Linked DNA regions of Homo sapiens: region 1 is linked to region 2. Evidence: promoter capture Hi-C in human tissues and cell types (Jung and others, 2019). All regions are on one chromosome and are shown on one strand. Each heading gives the region's core, a stretch centred on a gene start or on the middle of the fragment in contact. The rest is flanking DNA. Distances are from core to core; before and after follow the strand shown.

Region 1 (7,617 bases), core at 4,260-6,759, 130 kb before region 2:
AGGCATGTGCCACCATGCCTGGCTAATTTTTTGTATTTTTAGTAGAGACAGGGTTTCACCATGTTGGCCAGGCTGGTCTCGAACTTCTGACCTCAGGTGATTCACCTGCCTCAGCCTCCCAAAGTGCTGGGATTACAGGCGTGAGCCACCGCGCCCGGCCAAGGATGTGACATTGCTGATTGACTCTGTCAGATACTTTTCACTCTGGCTTCCGGGGCATCCTGCTGTCCTGGTTTCCAGGCCTCACTGGTTTTGCCTTCACAGCTCTTTTGCTGGGTCATCCTCTTACTGACCTCTCAACATCAGAGACCAAAGGCTCCATCACAAACGTCATCTCTTTGCTATGAAAGCTTGCACCCTACGTGAGCTTATCCAGTCCTGTGACTTAAAATGCCTTTTATCCCCTAATTATTCCCAAGTCGCTCCATGATGCCACCACCTGGATGGCTAATAGACATGTCAATATCATCACACAAAAAAAGATTTATTTTCCCATCAAACTTGCTTCTCCCCGAGTGTTCTGCTTCTCTGTAAATGGCCCACCATCCACCCACCACCCACCTGATCATCAGTTTATCCTTTTTCTTCACCCTCGGCCCTGTATTTAGTCAAAGAAAAGCAATATGCCCCAAACCCAAGCATTTCTCTCCACCTGCCCTAATCCCCTAGCCCTGACCCTCATTGCTCACATGATCCACCCCAACAGCCTCCTGGGGGAACCCCTTCTTCTATATTTGTCCCATTTTCAGTCTGTTCTCCACACAGCAGCCAGGGAGATTTGTAAAAACATTAGTCAGATCATGCCACTTCTCTCCTCAAAACCCTATAAGGAAGTGTATGTTTTGGCCCCAAAACTGCTCTACTTTTCCCACTCACTTCTCCCCAACCATACTGGCCTCCTTCCTACTTCTTGAGCATAAAATCACATGCCCACCCCAGGGTCTTTGCATAATACTCTTCCCTCTGCCTGCAATATTCTTTCCCCAGTCAACTGTGTGTCTTGTCCCCTCATCTACTTGGGTCTCTTTCAATGCCACCTCCACAGAGAAGTCTTCCCTGACTGCCCCACCCAAAGTGGCAACATGATCCTTACTCTCTGCCCCTTATGCTATCTTGTTCTCTCCACAGCATGATTACTACTTGTCACTATATTCATTTATTTCTTGATGTGTTTCTCCTCTCTCATTGGCATGTCTTTCTACATATCAATGAGAACAGGGAATTATCTTGTTTGTTCACCGCTGCATCCCTGTGCCTAGAGCAGTGGCTGGTGCATTATCAACACTCAGCTCAACAAATGAATATTGATATTAAGAAGAAAGACACTCTTCTTTTTTTTTTTTTTTTTTTTTTGAGACAGAATCTTGCTCTGTCACCCAGGCTGGAGTGCAGTGGCGTGATCTTGGCTCCACTGCAACCTCCGCCTCATGGATTCAAGCAATTCTCCTGCCTCAGCAACCCTGGTAGCTGGGATTACAGGTGTGTGCCACCACCTCTGGCTAATTTTTGTATTTTTACTAGAGGCAGGGTTTCCCCATGTTGGCCAGGCTGGTCTCAAACTCCTGACCTCAAGTGATCCACTCGCCTCGGCCTCCCAAAGTGCTGGGATTCCGGCCGTGAGCCACCACGCCTGGCCCAAGAGAAACACTCGTAATATCCACTAAGAGATCAAGGAAATTATTCCACCTATGAAACAAGAAGTGGAAACTAGGAAACAAGAAGAAGCAGTTATAGGAAGAACCAAACACGGATTCTGAAATGGAAATTACACATTCTGAAATTAAAATGCTGGTGATTTGGGGCTGGGTGCAGTGGCTCATGCCTATAATCCCAGTACTTTGGGAGGCCGAGGTGGGCAGATCAGTTGAGGCCAGGAGTTCGAGACCAGCCTGGCCAACATGGTGAAACCCCATCGATATTAAAAATACAAAAATTAGCTGGGCATGGTGGCACATGCCTATAGACCCAGCTACTTAGGAGGCTGAGGCATGAGAATTGCTTGAACCTGGGCAGTGGAGACTGCAATGGGCCAAGATGGCGCCACTGCACTCCAGCCTGGGCAACAGAGCAAGACTCTGACTCAACTTAAAAAAAAAAAAGTGGAGAAAGCTGCATGAGAAGCATTTTTTTGGGAGAGCTCAGCTTTGGCCACACTAAGTGTGAGATGTTTATTAAGCACCTAAGATTAGGCAGTTGGATCAAAATCTAGCATTCCAAGAAGAGGTACAGGCTAAAGATGTGAATGGACCAGATGATAGAGAATATAGAGAAGACCAAGGAGTGAGCTCAGTGGCCTCCAATGTTAACAGTGTGTGGAGAAGAGGAAAACCCAACCAAGAAGATTGAGAACTAGTGAGTCCTGGAGGCCCAGGGAAGAAAGTATTCTCAGATGGAGATCAGAGACAGATGGCTCAAGTAAGATGAGGACTGAAAATGTCATTGAATCTAGCAGCATGGAGGTCATTGGTGACAGCAGAGTGATAGGGGCAAAACCTTGATGGGAATGAATCCAAAAACAAACAAAAAAATGGGAAGACAGAAACTGGAAATGAGTGTCAATAATACTTTCATAGAATTTTGTTGTAAATACAAGCAAAGGTGGGGCAGTCGCTTAAGAAGAAAGAGGGGCTCAAATGGAGGGGGAGTTTTTGGAAGGCTACAGAAAAAAATGGCATATTTGTACATTGGTGGAAATTATCCAGTAGCGAGGGAAAGACAAATGCCAAAGAGAGATGTGAGCAGGCAAAGGGGGGTGGGCTCTAGGCACACAGTGAGGGGTTGGCATGGATGAGAGAGAAACCAAACTGGGTGGAAGGAAGGCAGAATGTGGGGGCACCAAGGCAGGTGAGCTGGTGAGAGAATTAGACTGTTGGCTTCTGATGGCTTCTATTGTTTTAGTGAAATAAGAAAAAAGGTCATCTATTGAGAGAGAGGATAGAAGAGAAGGTGGTAGGTTTGAAGAGAGAAGATGGTATCAAATAACCCCTGGTTTGTGTGTTCAAATATAAGGGTAACAGAAATAAAACGTACAACTGACAGACCAAGACAGTAGAAGAATATAACAAGAAAACTTAATGGATTCAGTAGAAATTAGGAACAAGGAAACCAAGATTTAAAGGGAAAATGTGGTAAACAAGAAAACATACAGTAAGTCCAAACATGTCAATAATTACAATAAATGTGAACAGGTTAAAATCGCTAATTAAAAGGCAGAGGTATTTCTTTTGGATTTTACAAAAGGAAATGTAAAGCTTATTTGGCAGCTCAAGCTGATGAAGCTAAACATATCAGTTACTAAAACAAAGTCTGCACATATTTACACCAAACTGTAAACAGTAGTGTAACTCACTGGTTGATGAGTATATGAGGGATCTTTATTTTCATTTCAATATGTTCTGAATTTTTGAGGAAGTGTGTAAATTATTTCATAATTAGAAAATAAATGAAATTTTTAAAAAAATCATCCATGCACTTCAGCAAGTCTCCATGGAACCTTTATTTGTTGTCCAAATCAGTTCCAAAGAGCCTCTAAAGAAGGGTTCCAGACTACCAGGAGCTCACTGGAAATAAGACCAACTGGACCATAATAGAAGAATGCAGGTCATGGCTGGGTGCCGCAACTCACACCACTTTGGGAGGCCAAGGCAGGCAGATCACCTGAGGTCAGGAGTTTGAGAAGAATGCAGGACAGTGTAAAGATGAGATTCCACTGACAACTCTGAGCCCTAGTTGTAGGCAGGAATAAGTGAAGAGAGCCCGCTGGAGGAGGAGTATTTGGACTGTGCCCATTCCACACAGTATGTGGCCTAAGGGTGAGCCTGGAGACAGCATTCCAGGCTGGAGGTCCAACATAAGCAAGGGTGGGAACTGAGAAAGCATGTACAGGGCATGTGGTGGAAGCAGTGGATGACTCAAGGTGCAGAGCCCAGGGAGGCAAAGAAGTTGGCTTGGTAAGCCATGTGGAGGGGCAGCGGGAAGAGTCGGTGAAGCAAAAAGAAGCAGATGGGAGGGGCATTTATGCCTCAAATGGAGAGTTTTATGCCCAAAGCTCATAAGAGCAAACACCTGGGTTGCCATCACTGCTGCACTGCACATATACGCATGCACACATGTACACACATGCACTTGTGCAAACACATGTGCACACATACACAGACATGTGCACACACCCACATATACATACACTTCTTTTTTTTCTTTTCTTTTTTTTTTTTTTTTTGAGATAAGAGTCTTTCTCTGTCAACCAGGCTGGAGGGCAGTGGTGCAATCTCAGCTTGCTGCAACCTCTGCCTCCTGGGTTCAAGAGATTCTCCTGCCTCAGCCTCCCAAGTAGCTGGAATTACAGCTGTGCACCACGACCATGCTCAGCTAACTTTTGTATTTTTAGTAGAGATGGGTTTTTGCCATGTTGGCCAAGCTGGTCTTGAACTCTTGACCTCAAGTGATCCCCCCACCTCGGCCTCCCAAAGTGCTGGGATTACAGGCATGAGCCACCACGCCCGGCCATGCACACACACTTTTTAACTGCTTTGTGTTCTCTGGCCCTTTCGCCTACAGAATTAGCTATCGAGACCAAGGGGGTTCTCTTGGCCTCGGTCCAGCCTTTCCTGAACCCCACACCCTGCATCAGCACACACTGCTGTCCACTCACCTGCCCTAGTAAGTCACCACTAGCTGTTGTTGACTGGGAGCCCCTTGGCTTTTAAGCAGGATTTGACCCAAGGGCTCGCAGTGCGTGGTGGGTCCAGGGGCAGGAGTTGAGGCAGAAAGACAAGGGCAGGGACAGCTGTGGAGTGGGGGAGGTGGGAGAGAGAAATCCTTAGGAGGCAAAACTAGCCAGGCTTGGCCCCTGGTGGATTTGGGAGGCAGGGAGCAGGAGGCGTGAACCAAGACGCTGGGTTCCAGGCCAGACACTGTGACATGAGAGGCCATAGCTGAGGTGGGGCTCTGCAGGAGGCATAGATTTGGGGAGGGGACAGAGATCTCAGGGTGGCATTGGGCACACCGAACCTGGGGAGTCTGTGGGGTGTCTGTTGATGCTGGGAAGCTCCACCGAGGACTCAGGACAGGGTAACAGCAAAGCGGGCACAGGACGCCAACCACAGCAGGTGAGTGGAGGCAGGAGCCACGGGTGGGGCCAGGCCACACAGCCTGGGAGGCGCAGGGGCTGGGCAGCTGCCAGTGACCCAAGCCCACACAGAGACTTGCACAGCTGCCCCAGCCCCAAATTAGGGGGATCCCCTGGCCCACCTTCTCTTGGCTCAGCCACTCTGGGAGGTGGGCACACAGGGGCACCGAAGGGAGCAGGCAGCCCTGGCATCCCACAGCCGCCAGGAGAAAAACTTAGGCCTCCCCAAGACCTGGCACAGAGCAGGCCGGCCCTGGCCCCCAAGCAGAGGAGGCTGCACCTCCCTCGCGTCTGTGCCTGCCTCAACGCGGGTTAAACTTTGACCAAGGAAATGATTGCTAAACTCGATTCCATAAGTGTCACCGGTCACACTTTAATTCCAGTCTAAAATTAAAGTCTTCAGTCTCCACATTCCCTACTTTCCAAATTCAGCTTTCCCGGGAGGTCTGGAGCAGCTGCCTCTCTGGGGAGATGCTGGAGGTCTCGGAATCACCTCACGCGGCCTCAGGGCCCAGTTGGAGCCACCCCAAGTGACACCAGCAGGCAGATGACCAGAGAGCCTGAGCCTCCGGCCCCGAGTCTGTGAAGCCTAGCCGCTGGGCTGGAGAAGCCACTGTGGGCACCACCGTGGGGGAAACAGGCCCGTTGCCCTGGCCTCTTTGCCCTGGGCCAGCCTTTGTGAAGTGGGCCCCTCTTCTGGGCCCCTTGAGTAGGTTCCATGGCATTTTCTGAACTCCTGGACCTCGTGGGTGGCCTGGGCAGGTTCCAGGTTCTCCAGACGATGGCTCTGATGGTCTCCATCATGTGGCTGTGTACCCAGAGCATGCTGGAGAACTTCTCGGCCGCCGTGCCCAGCCACCGCTGCTGGGCACCCCTCCTGGACAACAGCACGGCTCAGGCCAGCATCCTAGGGAGCTTGAGTCCTGAGGCCCTCCTGGCTATTTCCATCCCGCCGGGCCCCAACCAGAGGCCCCACCAGTGCCGCCGCTTCCGCCAGCCACAGTGGCAGCTCTTGGACCCCAATGCCACGGCCACCAGCTGGAGCGAGGCCGACACGGAGCCGTGTGTGGATGGCTGGGTCTATGACCGCAGCATCTTCACCTCCACAATCGTGGCCAAGGTAGGGCCTCCCCCAGAGCCACTCGAGTCCCACCACCTTGGAGGTCAGTCATGGATCACGGTGGGTCAGACTCAAAGGTCCAGTCCTGGGAGGGACCCACCTCCCCAGGCCCCACTCACTCTCGAGCCTCTCAGCCCCTCGTCAGCCACACACAGGGAAGTGGGCGGCAGGGATCAGTCTACAAATGGGGCCAGCCCAGGCTCTTGGAGGTGCGGGGGGCACCTGGGCGGGCACCTCTAAATGCTGGCACCTGGACACTCACCGGCCTCACCCTGTCCTGGCCCTGCTGACCTGTCAGCCGTGACTCCAGGCAACTCAGCAGCAGGGGGACTCAGTGACAATTCACTGGATTCCCCGAGACCAAAGCACACAGAGTAAGGGATTACCCCAGGCTGCCTCCCAGATGGGGCGCCAGGCAAAGCCAGGCAAGCAGAGAGGGGCAGCTCATCCCAACAAGTGGGAAGAACCTCTTTATAAAGAACAGGAGGGAAGCAACCTCTGGGAGAGGGGTGAGGGTGTCAGCTTGGGTGGCTGCTTCCAAGTGGAGAGACAGGAGAGAGGGGCAGATGTGGCTAGAGACCCATTGGGCAATAGGGAGCCATGGAAGAGTTCAGGCAGAGGGTGGCAGGATATACTCCTCAAAAGGCCAAACTATGCCTGTGGGTGCCCTCACTGTTCCACAGGGTCTTGCTCTAAAACCCTAGAGGTCACCAGACCACCCACCGCACCCAGCTCCCTGGGGGCCCTCCCATGCGGTTCCTCTGCCTCTCTGCTGGGGCTCTCCCAACCTCCTGAGCTCAGCCTCCTCCTCTCCCATCAGTGGAACCTCGTGTGTGACTCTCATGCTCTGAAGCCCATGGCCCAGTCCATCTACCTGGCTGGGATTCTGGTGGGAGCTGCTGCGTGCGGCCCTGCCTCAGACAGGTGAGTACCCCCAGTCCAGGCAGGTCCCAGTTCCCCTCACAACCCCTGCTCTCCTAGGACCCTGGCCGACTGGCCCCAAACCAGCCTCACAAAACCAAGTCTAGAAAGCGCCCTACTTGCTGGGTGTGGGTCTCGGACCAGCCACCCTGCAGCCGTGCCAGGTAGGGAGGTCTGGAACCTTCTCTGAACCTCGAGTTCACCAACTTTACTCTGGGGGTTGTAGAGGATTTCTGCTCCCCAGCAAACATTCACTGCTAAAACTGGCTTGGCCATGCGCCTTCCTTCAGCAGCAACCTGAGTGCTCCTGGTGACTGGAGCCCATTCCCTTTGGCTCTGGCCTCGGGACTCTCCTTGTGCTCCGGAGGGTTCCGTAGGTGGAGAATGTAGGTTTCACCCAGGTGCCGCTTCAGTGTCCGCCTCAGCTCAGCGGGCAAGCATAGGGTGG
Region 2 (6,730 bases), core at 406-2,905:
CTGGAAGCAAGAGGAGGTAGGGACTGAGGGGCTGAAGCACCCACAAAACAGAAGGCCTCACAGTTAGCAGACTGCAGACCTCCCTCCCCTTCTCCTTCCCTCTCCCTTCTTTCTTTCTCCTTCTCTGGCAGAAGACAGAGAAAGTAAGACCCTAATGTCCACCCTCCTCCAAAAGGAACACCCAGACACTGGGAAGGTAGACAACAGGGAAGGATAAGAATGAATGGAAGAGGAGAGACGCCCACCCGCCAACACATGAAAAAACAGGGCTATCTGGAAGCCCCCAGGGCAGCCAAGGGACTGGGGACCCAAGACCCACCCCCTAAAAATCTATTTCATTATTCCAGGTGGACAGCCTCCTCCTTCACCTCCAGACACCAAGAAAAAGCCCCTCCCAGCCCTTGCTAGCTCAATGAGGCATCGAATGCCCTCTCCCAAGATTCAGGAGGGGGGTGAGAGTAAAGGAGACAACAGCACCCCAAAGCCAATTGTGCCCCAAAAGCCCATCAAGGGTTCAAGGGCTCATACCCCAACCCAAAGACCCCAGGGAAGATTGCTGCTTCAGCTGGGGGAGGAGGCTGGGACATGAGAAATGGTCCCTTCCTCTTTAGGGGTGGGGGAGCAAGCCAAGGGCCCTGCAGCTTCCTCTCCCCCTGCAGCACTCTCTGACCAGAACCCTGTCACCGCCCCCAGCGCATTCCCACCCCAGCAAAGCCCCCTCCTACTGATTTCCCAGTCTCCCTGTCTCATCACCCCCAGCCTTCCCCCGCAAGCTTCCGCTCCTCTCCCTCAGACCCCATCTTTCCCAGCTCTCCACCAGCACAGACCCATCTCTGCCTGGAGCACCTTGGCACATTCCCCTCTGCTCTCTCCCAATAACCTCTTCTCCCCTTGGCTCCCATCCCCCAGGAAAGCCTGGTCCTCAGTGGGTCCCCTCAGGACGAAGCCCTTGGCCTGGCCCCTTTCCTTCCCTCTCCACTTCTCTCTCTTCTCCAGCCCCCTCTCCTCTCCTCCCACGAAGCCCAGTTTCTCGCTGGTTAGACCCTCCAGAACACAACAGCTCCTCTGGCCCGGCGCTGCTTCAAGCCTCTGGGGCTAGCACAGACTGGGGACCCCCCTTTAAGAACCCCCTCTAAGTCCTCTGGATGCCCCTCCTCTCTCCATCCCTTCCCCCAAAGACCCTTCCTCCCACCCCTCCCCATTCTCCTCAGCTCTCAGGGCCAGTGCCCCTTCCACAGGAGCCTCCGACCCCCAAGCCCCCAGCGGCTTTGCCTCCTCGCTGTCACCGGGCCAGCCCTCTCAGCGCGGCGCCCCCGCCCCCCAATTCATCCGTCCTGCCTCCCTCGCCCCCTCCGATCCGCTCCCCTCCCCCGATCGGCTCCCGCCCCCCGCCCGTCTCCGCCGCAGCGCCCCCCCCCCCCCATTTTACCTGGTTCTCGGGGCGCCAGAAGCTGGAGGGTGGGTAGCAGAGCTACAGGGCCGCCCCGTCTCCGACGGGTGGCAGAGCCAGGGCTAGCGGTGTCTGCCGCCTCGCGCCTCTCTCCCTCCCCGCCGCGTCCCCGCCCGCCCGCCCGCCCCGCCGCGGTGCCTCTCCGAGGAGGATGCTCCGCGAGTCAGGGCGGCTGCTCCCGCCGCCGCATCCCTGCAACACCGACTGACGGCAGCATCAGCACCAGTGCCCGCCCCCGAGACGCGCGCATTGGACCACGCTGCGCTGACGGGCGAGCAGCGCAGCCAATGCAAGGGCTCAGAAGCCGCCAGTCCAGCGGCTCCACAGGCCCACTCCCTCCCTCGCGCGGGACCCAGGCGTCCCGGCCCCAGCACCCGCGCTCCTCCCAGCCTCTCGAGGTTCTCGGGCGCCCGGGCCCCCAACCAGGCGGGCCCCAAACCCGGCCTCAGTGTCTTTTCCGGGAACCCAAGCACTCTCGCCCCTCGCCCCTCGCCCCTTAGTTCGGGGCCTTGGGTCCCGCACCCTCCCCCCACGGCCAGCAGGTCTTCGCGCAGCGCGGGGCTGGGACAAGCCGAAGGAGAGGCTGTGGACCCCGACTTGGGACGCCGCGAGAGCAGGGCTGATGCGGGGCCTGGGCCGCAGCGCCCTCTGCTGGCTACCCCCAGGGGCGGGCCCGGGCTTCGAGGAGCCTAGAGAAGGGGGACTCGGTGGGTCCATGGCTGCTGGGGGCTTTTTCCAGTCGGTAGCCTGGCCCCCACCTCCCACCGTCCGGAGGGCCCCTGGCTTGGAGCCCCCAGAACTGAAGAGGAAGGGGCTTTGCTGGGATAAAGACGGAGGCGGTGGGGGAAGGAAAGGCAGAGATGGGGGCGGGGTAGACCTAGGAACTTGGGGGTTTCCCAGTCCTGCCTCATGGGAATCCCAGAGTTTGAGGCCAAACTCTCAGTTCTGCCTGGAACCCTGGACCGAGGTACGAGTAGGTGTGGGGGCAGGGTTGCGCCTGCACATGCCTGGTGACTGAGGGCACCTGGCAGCAGCCCCCTTCTCTGTTCTCCTCCTCCCATCCATGAGTTTCAGTTAGAGTGGTGCTGGGGGGCGCAGGTCTCTCCTGTAAGGGTACATGCATCACTGTGCATGTGTATGAGTGTGGGGGACTGGGGGACACCCTTCACTCACTCCGCCAATAAAAGTGTACACACACTGGCACTTAGTGTGTATACCCCGAGGTTGGTCACTGGGCTGCTGAATGAGACAGTGAGAGACAGAGTGTGTGTGTGTATGTGTGCCAGACCATTCTGCCAGCTCACTCCAGGACCCTGGTTTCTGTTGCAGGGTCTGTGATCTGCACAGCTGGTGGTAGTTGGCACTTCCTTAGCCAGAGGCAACATGCAAGAACACTTACATTCAACCACCAATGCATGGACATTGGGGCACTCACAGCCATGCACACATATCTGTGAACACTGGGCATTCCCAGAGACACATAAGAACACCTGCAGAAATGCCCCACCATGGTAACACACCCACAGGAAGCATATACTGCCCAAGAACACACACACTTGTGCACACAGGTACCTACACCAGGCAATTAATGCATGCCCAGAACAGCTGCACCCAGGGGACCTGCCCACAGTCATCCTGGACCCCTGCCCAGGCACTTCAAAGAGAGTGGTCAATTACTGAGTGGCTTAATGCGGACACCAACCCCCCGGGTGGGAAACTCCTTCCCCAGCCTGTGAAGGGGTAAGAGGGGGACCCAGGCTGCAAGGAGTTTTTCCTAGGAGTCGAGAAGGGTGATCCCTAAGCCAGGTCCCAGACTTAGGGCCCACTCTGACCTTGGAGAGACCCCCAGGGCATCCCCACCAAAGCCAATGAAGGAGCCAGAGAATGGAACTGCTGCGTCAGGGCCTATGAATGCGAAATCGCCTCCCTGACCCCACAGCCCACTTTCCTGCCCATCCCCCACTGTTCCTCTTCCTGCAGCCTCCTCACACTCACACACACACACACACACACACACACCCCTTGTCCATCCAGGCATCAGGGCATAGACAGACAGATGCAATGGCTCACAGAGACAGACTCAGACCCTTACAGAGGAGCCTGGGCAGGGAGGGAGGTAAGTATGAGCACTTGTCTCCTTTCCCTACCCCCAGCTTTGCCCATCAAGGGCAGAAAAGGTCACCGGGCAGCTGCTGCATCTCCCTGTCCCTCCCACCTACAGGGACATCTCTCCTCTCTGCAAGGTCCAAGGTTCAGATTGCCTAAGCATTTGGGACCTGCCACTTCAAGACACACCCCACACACACACACACCACACACAGGTACCCACCCAATGTGGACAGTTGAGTGATATGCTGAGCACATGCCCTTCTCCCATGTGCAAAGGCCAGTGGGGACACATGGGGGAGGGGAAACACAGCAGATACAGCATGCATGTCCATGCACACACATGCACACAGGCGCATACAATGTGAAGCTCAGACACCAAATTCAGACACATGCAACCATGAAGACCGCTACTTGTCACATCCCGGGCAGGCAGACCTGGACACACATATGCATGCATGCATACACACACACACACACACACACACACACACACACACACACACCAGGAAGAGGCCAGACTGGAACTGGAGGGTAGTGACGAGAGGAGCCAAGAGGAACCGACTGGGCTGCAGGGATGGAGGCAGCACAGGAGGCAGGCGGCACAGGAGCGAGCTGCTCTTCACAACACAATCGCCGTCTGTTGTTATAGCAACTCAGCCCCCAAATCGTGAAACGGATATTACAGCCTCAAGAGGGGGAAGGGCGGAGGGGGCTGAGGACAGAAGGAGGGGCAGGGGGGCACCCGATGCAGAGACAGGGCTGGGGGGCCCAACACAGGGTAGGCCTGCAGGAGAGATATGACCAGGAAAGAGAAGGGAGTGACCCAAAATAAAGAACAGGCCAGGGGGAGTGGGGTCTCAAAGCAGGGATGGATGTGATGTGGGGAAACCCTGGGGTGGGGGACCGGGGCACTCATGGGGGAACTGAGGCCACTGCCAGGCCCACAGATACTGTGCTTTGGAGTGGAAGGTGCTCAGGTCTCCACCCCTAGGACAATCCTACAGCTGCTGTGGGACACCTCCCAGTTTGGGGGACTGAGGAGGTAGTTCCCATTGTCAGGACTGCTGTCTGGAGTCTCCTGATCCCAGGGGCAGCCCGGCCCAGCTTCAGAACCTTTAGTAAACTCCCAGACCAGCCTCAGAAGTGGCCTTAGCCTTCTTTAGGTAGCAGTGACCCCCAAAACCTCCGTGCTGCAGGCTCAGGAGGGAAGAGCTGGGTTGGGAGAAGCCACCACCGGAGGCTGAAAGCAGGATCAATATGCATTTCCTCTGGAAGTCACTGTCCTTCCGGCTGGCAGCAGCACCAGGCCAGGAGGCTGCAAGGCGGAGGAGTGCAGCCCCCACCCTGAGGCACAAGCCCAGCAGGGCCCTCGGACTGCCCAGGGCCCTCCCTCCCTTCCCCGACAGCCAGCAACTCTGTGCTGCCCCTCTCCCTCCCACGATTCCTGCAGTGAGGGCCCTGTTACTGGAAGCGTCCAAGCAGGGGCTGAAAGGCCCCCTGTCCAGCAAGGGAATTTCGGCCATGGGCTGAAGGCTTTGGGTATGCATGACTGGCCCTGCAATTCTCGGGTGCAGACCTACTAGTTTCAAGTTTTAGATGTCCAAGGATCTGGTCTCCTCAAGATCCTAGACCCTCCCCAAGATTCTTATGTTCCAAGGTTTTCTGCTTCTAAGATTCTCTTCCCCAAGACTCCAGACACATGAGATTCCAGACCTCCCAAGTTTCTCTGGCTACAAAGTTCTAGCTCCCAAGATTGTCATCCTGTAAAGTATACCATCCCCCTACCCCCCGGGATTCTAGGCGCTGATGGTGAAGGTTAATTACACGGGCCTTTTTATTCCATCTGGAAAATACAAATATTCACAAGAGTCTGTACAACCTTAGGGACACCAGCCCTGGCCCTGCCCTCAGCTGCATGCCACCCTCATATCCCACCCCCATCCCCAGCCTCCTGCCCCGACACCCCCAGGCTCCCTGCTCTGGTTGAAGTATTTTCTCCAAGGCAGGAATGAGTCCTTGATCCAACCACAGCTGGGAAGAGAAAAACAGGTTGTGAGGAAGACACCCCCCTAACAACAAGGTAGTAGCCCACCTGGCTTGGAGCCATTTGGATAAAGCACCCATTTCCCTGATACTCCCCAGCTCCCCCCCAGCCCTCAGTGGGGAGCTCTGGTGCCAGCTGTGGGAGGACTCACCATCTATTACAAGTGGATGTCAAACACCCCATCCTCCACCGTCTGTACCTCCTCCTCACGGATCTCTGCTGGGAGGGGGATTGCTGCAGAACACACTTCCAGGTCCCTGGGACTTCATCAACCCTTCCCCTCTCCACGGGAGGCATCCACATCATCCCAGAAGCAGACCCACCCACCAAAAATCAATTCCCTGCATGACCTCACAGCCCAATTTTTTTTTTTTTTTTTTTTTTTTGAGACAGAGTCTCTCTCTGTCGCCCAGGCTGGAGTGCAATGGCGCAATCTCGGCTCTCTGCAACCTCCACCTCCCAGGTTCAAGCGATTCTCGTGCCTCAGCCTCCCAAGTAGCTGGGATTACAGGCGCCTGCCACCACGCCCAGCTAATTTTTGTATTTTTGTATTGTAGAGATGATGTTTTGCCACGTTGGCCAGTCTGGTCTCCAACTCCTGACCTCGGGTGATCCACCCACCTTGGCTTCCCAAAGTGCTAGGATTACAGGCGTGAGCCACCATGCCCGGCCTCAGCCCAATTTTTGAGGCTCTTTTTCTATGTTTTTGTTTTGCCACAGCTTTTTCAGCCACAGATTTGTCAGCGCAGTTTGCTTAAATGTCAATTTTGTGTGTATTTCACATTTTAGACCCCAGCACTTCTGGAAGGCTCAATGCAAATGGATTTATCTTTTCTATTTTTGAGGATGTATGCCCTGTGCCTGCCTCTGTTTTTTGAGGACTTATGCCAACCCAAACAGTTGTGATCAACTACCTTAGACCCCAGTTTAACATAGTTGTTCGGACTGTTCTCAGCAAAATAATCATTTGGCCAGTTGTCATTCAGCAAACTGACCTAAAACCATCAAATACCCCAAGAGAGCTGCCAGGACATTATCAGGGCAAGGGACTTTCCCCAGAAGAGCCTCCAGAGCAGCCAGAAAGGGAAAGGCAAGCCAATGGCTCATATAACACCTTCTCCAATCCT

Evidence for each region. Contacts are between HindIII fragments. The study calls those that stand out against the background at their distance.
Region 1: the fragment with the promoter of SLC22A12 here is called in contact with the fragment with the promoter of NRXN2 in region 2 in 5 of the 25 tissues and cell types used here (IMR-90 fibroblasts, dorsolateral prefrontal cortex, lymphoblastoid cells and 2 more).

What each region holds. Positions count from the first base shown.
Region 1 is chr11:64,585,711-64,593,327 of GRCh38, forward strand. It overlaps SLC22A12 (solute carrier family 22 member 12), which reads left to right and starts at 5,510. Exons shown (of 10, transcript NM_144585.4): 1 at 5,510-6,248; 2 at 7,069-7,172. The coding sequence starts at 5,847. The HindIII fragment of the contact is 41,401 bases long and covers 1,801-7,617 here.
Region 2 is chr11:64,721,542-64,728,271 of GRCh38, forward strand. NRXN2 (neurexin 2) reads right to left here and starts at 1,656. Exons shown (of 23, transcript NM_015080.4): 1 at 1,430-1,656. RASGRP2 (RAS guanyl releasing protein 2) reads right to left here. Exons shown (of 17, transcript NM_001098671.2): 16 at 5,755-5,819; 17 at 5,370-5,590. The coding sequence ends at 5,761. RefSeq lists silencers at 1,536-1,830, 1,817-2,116 and enhancers at 2,497-2,546, 3,756-4,594. The HindIII fragment of the contact is 11,757 bases long and covers 1-6,730 here.